Linked DNA regions of Homo sapiens: all the other regions are linked to region 3. Evidence: promoter capture Hi-C in human tissues and cell types (Jung and others, 2019). All regions are on one chromosome and are shown on one strand. Each heading gives the region's core, a stretch centred on a gene start or on the middle of the fragment in contact. The rest is flanking DNA. Distances are from core to core; before and after follow the strand shown.

Region 1 (3,276 bases), core at 146-2,645, 1.8 Mb before region 3:
TAACCCCAGCATTTTGGGAGGCTGAGGCAGGCAGATCACTTGAAGTCAGGAGTTCGAGACCAGCCTGTCCAACATGAAGAAACTCCGTCTCCACTAAAAATACAAAATTATCCGGGCGTGGTGGTGGTGCATGCCTGTAATCCCAGGTACTCGGGAGGCTGAGGCAGGAGAATCACTTGAACTCGGGAGGCAGAGGTTGTAGTGAGCGGACATCACGCCATTGCACTTCAGCCTGGGCAACAAGAGTGAAAATCCATCCCTCCCCCTGCCAAAAAAAAAAAAAAAAAAAAAAAATTAGCCGCCCAGTTTCCAAGATTGGCAAAGCTTCATGTACCTTGGAGTTCTCACCTGCCCATCTTTTTTTCCAAGCTCAGTTATTCATTGAAAAGAATATTTGTTATATTTGGCCAGAAGCTATGTGTCTTCAAAAAAGCAATTTTGTCATTTTTGTCTTCAGAATATATTGTCTGGCATATTTCCAAGATTGAAAACCACAAACTTATACAAGAGAATTAAAGGTGAATAACTCTTCTTCCAGCAATTCAATATATTCTAGATTGACGCCACTTTTATATGTAAAAAATGTTTAGTGCATGTTACTTAAAAGTGTTTTGTAAAAAAACTTGAATTTGTGATGCTCTAGTTCAGCCCTGTCCAGTAGAATTTTCTACAATGATAAAAATGCTCTATATATCTATGCCGTTCAATATGGTAACCATTTGCCATATGTGACTATTGAGTATTTGAAATGTGGCTAGCATGCCTCAATTTTTAAAGCTCAATTAATTTCAATTTCAATAGTTACATGTGGCTGCTGCTACTGTATTGGACAGGGCAGTGGGTGAGAGAAATGGTTTTAATTTTACCGTATGTAGCAGAGTAAGAAAAAAAAAGCAGGCCGGGCGCGGTGGCTCAAGCCTGTAATCCCAGCACTTTGGGAGGCCGAGGCGGGTGGATCACGAGGTCAGGAGATCGAGACCATCCTGGCTAACAAGGTGAAACCCCATCTCTACTACAAATCCAAAAAAATTAGCCGGGCGTGGTGGCGGGCGTCTGTAGTCCCAGCTACTCAGGAGGCTGAGGCAGGAGAATGGCGTGAACCCGGCCGGCGGAGCTTGCAGTGAGACGAGATCGCGCCACTGCACGCCAGCCTGGGCTACAGAGCGAGACTCCGTCTCAAAAAAAAAAAAAAAAAAAAAAGGAAAAAAACCGGAATGAAAACACTAGAACTATGGAGCTGTAGTGGGGTGAGAAGATTTAAATAAACTGGCACAATTGGTAAAATGAAAAATTGACAACAGAGCTGCTTCCAGTGGTTTTCAAAGGTTAATGTGGTCTGAAACCTAAGTGTCCATCAACAGATGAATGGATAAAGAAAATGTGGCACTAATGCACAATGGAGTACTCTTCAGCCATAAAAAAGAGATTCTTTCATTTGCAACAACATGGACAGAACTGGGGGTCATTATGTTAAGTGAAATCAGCCAGGTTCAGAAAGACAAACGTTACATGTTCCGGCTTACTTGTGGGGTCTAAAAATCAAGACAAATGAATTCATGGAGATAGAGAATAGAAGAATGACTACCAGGGGCTGGGAAGGGTGGTGGCAGAGGCAGGGAAGGTGGGGATGGTTAATTGGTACAAAAAATAGACATAAAGAATAAAACCTAGTATTTGATAGCAGAACAAGGGGACTACAGTCAATAATAATTTATTTGTACATTTTAAGATAACTGAAAGGATAATTGGATTGTTGTAACACAAAGGATATGTGCTTGAGGGGATGGATGCCCAATTTTCTATGATAATATTGTGCATTGCATGGCTGTACCCCAATATATCATATACCCCATGAATATATCCACCCACTATGTACCCACAAAAATTAAAAAGAGTTTTAAAATGTTAACATGGTCAGAATCACCTGGAGGACTTACAAGTCCTCACACCCAGAGTTTCTGATTCAGTAGGTTTGGGCGGGGTCCAAGAGTCTGTGTGTTCAAAAAGTTCTTAGGTGATGCTGATATTGCTGGTCTGAACAAAGCACTTTGGAAACTATCAGTCTGATTTTGTCATACAGTTGCTAGTTCAGACATGGAAGTCACTCAGAGAGCTATGGCCTGAGCCCCACCATCCTATTTCTCATGGAAAACTCTGGCTTCTAAGCAAGGTGATTGTGTGATTTCTCCAGGAAGTGATACAAAAATCAGTTGGAAATGCAGATCTTTTCATTATTTTAAACAAAGGTGACCATGTAAACATTTTTACCTACATATTTATATACTTATAATATAATTAATGTATAAAATCAGTAAACTATTATCTAACAAATTTTGGTATTTTTTTCATGGCAGTGAAAATATGTTCAATGTAGCAAATACTGTGGTTAGCTATCTACCCAACCCATGTTTCTTTCTAACAGAGCCTTGATTTTCTAAAAAAAAAAAAAAAAACAAAAAAATTCTACTTCTTATATGACAAAGTTAACTCATCTGTAGTTTCAAGATTAGATCTTAAATTTTGAAAATTGCTTAAGACTTTAAATGAATTATGGTAATCTCATTCTCCTTACCAGTGGACATCTATCCCAAGCAGTGAGGAAAAGTTTATTTCATTCTAAGACAGAAGCACAAGAGTAAATGCTATTTTTCTGTTTCTGGATTTGCTGCGTTTGGTTGTGAAACAAATGTAACTACTACATTCCATCATCTTCCTACAAGAAGTTCTTAAACTATCCCCAAGCAGAGCACAGACACTAGGGAATATCAGAGAAAGAGAAACGAGAGCATTGAGGCCTGGGGCTCATCCCACCCCTTGACTTATTTTTACATGAAATAAAACTCCAACATTTCTTATAGTTTAAGTCAGTTTTGGTTGATGTGTTCTGCCATTTAAGGCAGAAAACTGCCTAACAGCTACCTTCAGGGTGTGAGGATCAGGATTTTTCAAATCACAAAGATAATGTAGAAATTGCAGAATTATTTTTTTGTTTTAGGTGACTGTGCTGATATGCTACATCTAATTATTTCCCACTACGGCTTGTCTTTAGAGCAAAATGGCAACAGACATGACCTACTTCCTTTTTCTCCCCCTAATCAGATCAAATAACAAAGTAGAATAAATGGCAATAGAAACAATAACATTGCCATAACCTCTGGTTATATTTTTCAAACAGAAGAAAGACTTCCAGTATGTCCTTTGGCATGATATAACACTAACCTTTAAAATATCCTTTTCCTTTCCTTTGACATTCTATAGACCAGCCAAAAGCAAATG
Region 2 (3,718 bases), core at 693-3,192, 1.0 Mb after region 3:
TACTGAGTGTGTGATATATATATATATATATATATATATATATAGAGAGAGAGAGAGAGAGAGAGAGAGAGAGTACAAAACCAGTGTATTGAAGAGATATCCACACTCCCATGTTTATTGTAGCACTATTCACAGTAGCCAAGATCTGGAGTCAACCTGTGTCCATGAACAGGTTAATGGATAAAGAAAACATGACATATATACACAATGGAATACTATTCAACCACAGAAAAGAAGGAAATTCTGGCATTTGTGACAAGTGTGAACTTGGAAGACATTACGTTAAGTCAAAAATCCAGCCACAGGAAGACAAATACCACATAAACTCTGTCATATGTGGAATCTAAAAGAGTTTAACTTATATAAGTAGACAGTAGAAGGGTAATTACCAGAGGTTGGAGTGGTTGGAAATGAGATTTGAAAGATGTTCATCAAAGGATAGAAAACTACAGTTAGATAGGAGGAATAAAATTTTAAGAGATCTATGGTACAACATGGTGACTTTAGTTACCAATATATTGTGTTCTTGAAAAATGCTGACAGTGGATGTAAAATGTTCACAAATAAAATATTAACTCTGTGAGATGATGTTAGAAATTAATGTAAGTATTTCTTTTTGTCTCACGATAGGTATGTGAACAAGGGTGATGGTTGCTTTGATGGTTGAAATGCAGATGAAGGCCGTTGCCTTCTTTCAATGTTCTTCAAGAGCTTTTGAAGGGAAAGGACCAACGTAGCATAGAAAAAAAATGTTAAATGTAGTGTCAAAAACTTCCATCATAAACTTAATATATACACTAATTCGAAAAGGTTATCTGTATCTCTGAGGATTAGTTACCTCATCATAACAATATGTGGTATATAGTTGGATTATTAGGAAGGCTGAATTAAAATGTAAGTGACGTGTCAGAAATGTAAGTTATTTTAGTAGTAATACCATATTTACTTAATTTAATATTTTAATAGGCATATATCAGTGATTTTGCTTTAATATTTTAAGAAAATTATTTTATTTTATTTGAAATACTAATAAAACTTATTTAATCTACAAGTTCTTGTTTTCCAAAAATATCACTGCAATATGAATTCAGATGGTTGACATGTAAAAATTGCAACCCTCTCTAGTTGAATAAATTTCCTATAAATGTTCATCTCCTTTAATTGATGTTCATTCATGCAAGAAAATATATAACACCAATCAAATTGCAGATGTAGTAATGAAAAAGCAAAACTGTGCTGTGAGTTTTGAAGACCTCTTTAATTTGACAGCAGTTACCTGACTAGAAAGAAAATAGACAGAATTATTTAGTACTGCAGAATTTGCTGCTGGGTTAAAATTGACATTGAAGGAGCCTACCCTTTGACAATGCCCCCATTGGCAACAGTGCCACCATGTCACCGTAAATAATCCTGCTGGGATCAATTGCCATGCTCCCTAGGGAAATTGTTGTCCATAATATCACAAAAAAGTAATGAGAGCAAAAGATTTTCTGCAAGAACATGAGGCTTTTCTAAGCATTAAACTAACAAAGCTTGAACTAAGTCAGCCGAGAAGTACACTGTGGGAAACTGCACAGAAACTGCACATCAGCAAAACGTCTTGGCAGAAAATGGACATGTAGAAGTGCAGTGACTGTCTTATTTATTCACCACTCTTGGGAACACTAATGTGAAAGTGACTAATATGGTATAATAGTTCCCAGAACCAATTAATTAATCATAGCATGCCATTAATAGATACATTCCTTGGGGGAAATATTTCATGCGCAGGGAAATTAAAGCATTTTATTATGATAAAGTTTCCCTAGTCAAAAATGCTTTAAATTTACATTCTCACACAGTTAACTAAGTGGGTATGAATTTATTTTTCTATTGTCTACAGGTGATTTCTGGAGAGAAATATCTTAAGTGTTCATGTGGAGTGGAATTAGAGCATGGCTCTTTTTGTCATCTCCTACTCTGCATTCACTGAAAATATTTTGTGCATTGATCCTACTTCCTAGATGAATATAATGGAGCTCAGAAAGCTTAAGTGATTTGCAAGTTGTGGCAGGGCTGGTAAGTGGCAGTGTTGTTTTTGTACTGCAAGTTTGGAATTGAAATCTCTCTCAACCATGCAGCTTTCTTTGTATGGCAGAATTATAACCACATCTAAAAAATCAAATTCTGAAACAATATGAGCTACATTTTACCATATCAAGAACAGTTAATAAGGATATATTTGAATGGCTTTGATCCATTTGATCCGATTAATTTTTATGGCCACATTGTGAATTATAGGCATTTTAAATTTAATTCTGTTTTTTAACTGAAATTTGGCAAACATATTTAAAACACTTGTGTTCTCACCACATAAATGACAAGTATGTGAGGTAATGCATATTTCTATTAGCTAGATTCAGTCATTCCACATGTATATATAATTTAAGACATATAATGTATAGAATTTTATCTGTCAGTTAAAATAATAAATCATAAGTCAGAAAAATATTCACTGATATTGGACAGAATGTTTAGGCATATCAATTACTGAGTTTATATTAAAAGACAAATAGCTGTCTAGCTTAAAAATAGTTATAGTATTTTTATAGCCATCTCTGGTTATCTCTGCAATTAACCCTGGATCAAATTTCCATTCTTTTCTTTAATACTCAGACTACTTCAAAGAAAATCAGATATGAAATTTTGTTGAAGGCTCTATGAGGTAAACTCGGTCATGTGTGGAGAGACTTCATAGCACACCACTATGCATGATTTATACTCAAGTACAACTCATATATCTTCTTCCCACAAAACATCTTCCTCCATTCCCTTGATCCCTTGTTTTTTCCAGGCTTTTCTTGGACTCCCATGGGAAGAATATACTATAATATTCAAGAGGGCTTAGGAGGACAACAGACTAGTGTTGGCCCTGAAACCATCATCTACTCTGGTTAAAAAGTTTAACCTAGATTTATACTGACAATAAAACCTACCACATAAGGTTAAAATGGGTATTAATAAGAAGACTTTAATGTGTTTAGCACAACATACAACTAACTATACTTATTGTGATAATGCTGACAAAAAGTGTTTGAGGCAGAGAAGGAAAATCGTTAGTCCATTTTACATGATCTCCATCCTTCTTTCCCCAGAGTATATAACATACAATACAACTAAAAATGAATTTAAGACATTTAAGCTTTTTAGGCTTATCTTCTGATAATATTACCATTCATAAGTTCTTCTAAAGATGGCTTTTTAAAATTATACTTTAAGTTCTGGGATACATGTGGAGAATGTGCAGGTTTGTTACATATATACACGTGCCATGGTGGTTTGCTGCACCCATCAACCTGTCGTCTACATTAGGTATTTCTGCAAATGCTATCCCTCCCCTAGACCCACACCCCCTGACAGGCCCTAGTGTGTGATGTTCCCCTCTCTGTGTCCATGTGTTCTCATTCTTCAACTCCCACTTATGAGGGAAAACATGCGGTGTTTGATTTTCTGTTCATGTGTTAGTTTGCTGAGAATGATGGTTTCCAGTTTCATCCATGTCCCTGCAAAGAACAGGAACTCATCCTTTTTTATGGCAGCATAGTATTCCATGGTGTATGTGTACCACATTTTCTTTATCCAGTCTATCATTGATGGGCATTTGGGTTGGTTCCAAGTCTTTGCTATTGTGAACATTGCTGCTACAGATGTTACAGACAGCTTTATAAAGTAAGCACTC
Region 3 (3,201 bases), core at 507-3,006:
ATTTAATAAGTGGTTTCTATAGCTTTAATATACCTGCGAAATGTGAAAAATAACCATTCTTAATTTTGGAACTGAAATTGTATTTCAGAACATGGCCAAGACATACTAAAAGCATAGACATGAGCCCACTACCTAAAACTCTTTTCTTTATTTTCAGAAAGGAAAGACAGTTAGTAGGAAATAAGGGAAATACTTAAATACCACTTTTGGAAACAAACAGGGATTTAACTGCTTTATCTGTCTTTGAGTTTTTAATGCAGGATATAAAGGACCTTAAAGCGTTCATATTGTCTCCTTAAAACCCTCTACTTCAATTTCACCCTTACAAGCTACTACTCTCCTAGGGAAGAGGAAAAAAAAATTTCCACTGACCCAGCTCGTGATTTACATACAGAGAGCAAATAAATGAATGGAGTGGGGGATGGGGCAGTGAGAAGCAATCTGTTTCTTTTTCAACCGCAGAAAATAAGATTACTTACCAAGAACATTTTTATCCAGGGCAAATGTTTATTCCCTCTATCATTCAGCGCCTCAGTCTCTGCAAGAAATCAATTTCCACTCTACCTTTCCCTCCTATTTCTAAAAAAGAGAGTGAGGCGGATAATTCTTAAGCTTCGGGGTCCGGAGGAAGATAGAGCTAGAGCGGAGGGCAAAAGACTCCCACAGCGCTCTTTATACAGATCCCAGCTCTGAGAGCGAACCCATGGGGAGGGGGCGGGGGATCATCTCTAAGGAGAGTACTCCGAGTAGGGAGGGGGATTCATTCTGCAGCCAAAATATAAATCATCTACAAACAGATTACTAGCCTCTCAGTCACACAGGCAGTTCCCTTGGGAAACCGGTTTCAAAGAGGAAGAAGTTCCTGGAGAGAGAGAGAGAGAGAGAGAGAGGGAGGGAGAGAGAGAGAGAGAGAGAGACTGGGGTTTGGACTTGCAGAGGGAATGGGGCCAAGGAGAGGAATAGGGAGAAGGAATAAAGCTAATCTTACCGATCGATCAGGCGATCGTTTGTTCAGTATTGGGACACGAAAATGGCAAGATAATGCATTCGGCAGCAAAGCCATTTCTGGCACACTCTCTCTCAGTTACTGCAGGAATCAGAGGGGAAGCGGGCGCCTCGAAACCTACCACTTGCTCCCCAGGGACCGTCCTCAGAACCTCCAAAGCTCTAGCTTCTAATGCAAGGCGTTCGGAGCTGAGGGTTCAGGTGGAAGTCAATTGTCTTGAGTCACAGGCAGCAGGAACGCCAAAGAAGTGGGACCTGGGAGGGCTGCTGCCGCCGCTGCTGCATCTAACCACGGTTCCCCGTCCCCTTGCCTAAGCCTCACCGGCACAGCGCCCCCGAAAGCGCCTAGCGACTCGGCCTCCTCCGCATCTTCAGCCCTTCGATCACCGCCCGCACCCCCCACCCCCCACCGCCTCGTGCAAATCGCTGATGATTTGGTCATCGTAATGTGACCGGTCGTAGTGGTTTATTTGGGGAGTGGGGGAATTGGTTGTGTTGGGCTTCCTTACTACGCCTCCCTCAGTTGCTGCAAGTGAAAATGTTCAAGGGAAATACTAGTGAAATGCACTGATGGAATACTATTAATCCTAATGATAATGGTCCCAACGCAGGTAACTCTTAAAGAACTGAGAGTGGGAAGATCAGAGCAGGATTTCCGAAGTGGTGCCCTCTTGAATTCTCATTGGATCCTCCCCAGCAGCCTAAATCATTCTTGCTGCTATATCTATCAGGATGACTACAGCCTTGCTCACTAGTTCTCTCTTTATCTCGTTGTCTTCAACACATCCTTTTACTTCTCTTTGCAGATTTATCTGTATTCCACCTCCTGTTCTCTGGGGTTACACAGCTTCTGCCTTTCCCCACTGTATGGGGATGTGCAGCCTGTAAATTTTCACTTTGCTTAAGGATCACCACGAATCACCCCCCACCATTCCCCACCCCCCCATATAAAGCATTTTCACATTCTGCTTTCTTGCCTTGGGGGTTCGTGGCTCTCTGTGTAACTGGTTTTTACTTGGTTACATGCCACCAGGAACTGCTGATTATTTTAAAGTCCTACTACCCTGCAGCTCACTACTTTACCTTGATTTGGAAGATCATGGAATATCTATTTGAATCCTGGATGTATTTTTCTCACAGTCTTCTTGCTTCCTGAAATTTCCTCTGGTAAGTTATTCTCTTTATCTGTTACTAGAAACTTAACTATTGCTATTTTTAATAAGCTCTGTTTTGTTGAAGTATTTCATTTTTCACATTTTTGTTACTTTCAGAACTGAAAGATCCATATGGCCATATTTATTAATTAGTATGTTAGTGGCAACTGCACTGCTAAGACATAACCCATGTAATGTATTACCCCAATATCCCATGTATTACCCCAATATCTTTTACCTTCTTTATTTTTAAAATATTTGTCCTCATTTATATTATGGGTTACACGGACATTAATCGCCCCCACCCCCATTAACCCTTCTTGGCACACATTCCTGTGCCATTTGAAATGTCACATTTTATAGGTTTATCTAAGAGAGAGCTTAAAAGAGACCTTCTGACAATTGCAAGGTCTGGAAAGTTCGCTAGTCGGATATTCAGAAGGTTGTTCAGGTCAGCATTTGTTCATGATAAGCAATTACATGACTGAAGGAAGACTTTGTTGCAAAGTGTATTTTTATGAATTTAGCAAGACCTTAAGCACTAAAATGCCACTGAATGGTAGGAAGAGGACTGTGAGTTTTGAGGGCACCATTTTTTTTTCTTAAAATATTTCAAATCACACATAAGCACGTTATTTTAGGCATTGTATTTTAATTCAGGCATAGTATTTGTCAGTACATTTCTGATTTTGTGAATTAGCTGGTGAACAGTTAATTGGACACAGAGTACTCATTTCAGAGAGGAGCAATCAGAAGAAACCCCTGATTATCTTGGTTCTGATAAATTGAAATTCAAGAATAGACTTTACATGAAAAATTTAATTGCCTCACTCTTCATACTTGTCTGCCCCCAACCCTTGTGTTTAATAGGCATGTTAATATGGTCAGTGCCTTTTGCTTTTATGAACATTTCTATGGACTTAACTGACAAGATTATCACCTCCTCTTCCGTATAGTTGTGTTGAGAAACATTTTAATCTTTACTTTTACTTCACAATTGACACATAATGAGGAAAGCACGATATTCATTAAATGCCAAACC

The links. The method cuts DNA at HindIII sites, captures the fragments that hold promoters and counts their contacts. A contact is called where the count stands out against the background at its distance.
Region 1: a fragment that was not itself captured here is called in contact with the fragment with the promoter of BRINP3 in region 3 in 1 of the 25 tissues and cell types used here (dorsolateral prefrontal cortex).
Region 2: a fragment that was not itself captured here is called in contact with the fragment with the promoter of BRINP3 in region 3 in 1 of the 25 tissues and cell types used here (dorsolateral prefrontal cortex).

The regions. Positions count from the first base shown.
Region 1 is chr1:192,291,121-192,294,396 of GRCh38, reverse strand. No RefSeq gene overlaps it. Among named protein-coding and RNA genes, the nearest start is that of RGS21, 24 kb to the left of the region's middle. The HindIII fragment of the contact is 3,430 bases long and covers 1-3,110 here.
Region 2 is chr1:189,461,236-189,464,953 of GRCh38, reverse strand. All of the region lies in intron 3 of LOC105371657 (a long non-coding RNA gene), which reads right to left. Among named protein-coding and RNA genes, the nearest start is that of LINC01701, 310 kb to the left of the region's middle. The HindIII fragment of the contact is 3,303 bases long and covers 291-3,593 here.
Region 3 is chr1:190,476,419-190,479,619 of GRCh38, reverse strand. BRINP3 (BMP/retinoic acid inducible neural specific 3) reads left to right here and starts at 1,756. Exons shown (of 8, transcript NM_199051.3): 1 at 1,756-2,172. It overlaps BRINP3-DT (BRINP3 divergent transcript), which reads right to left and starts at 1,360. Exons shown (of 3, transcript NR_110716.1): 1 at 1,128-1,360; 2 at 480-538. The HindIII fragment of the contact is 15,526 bases long and covers 1-3,201 here.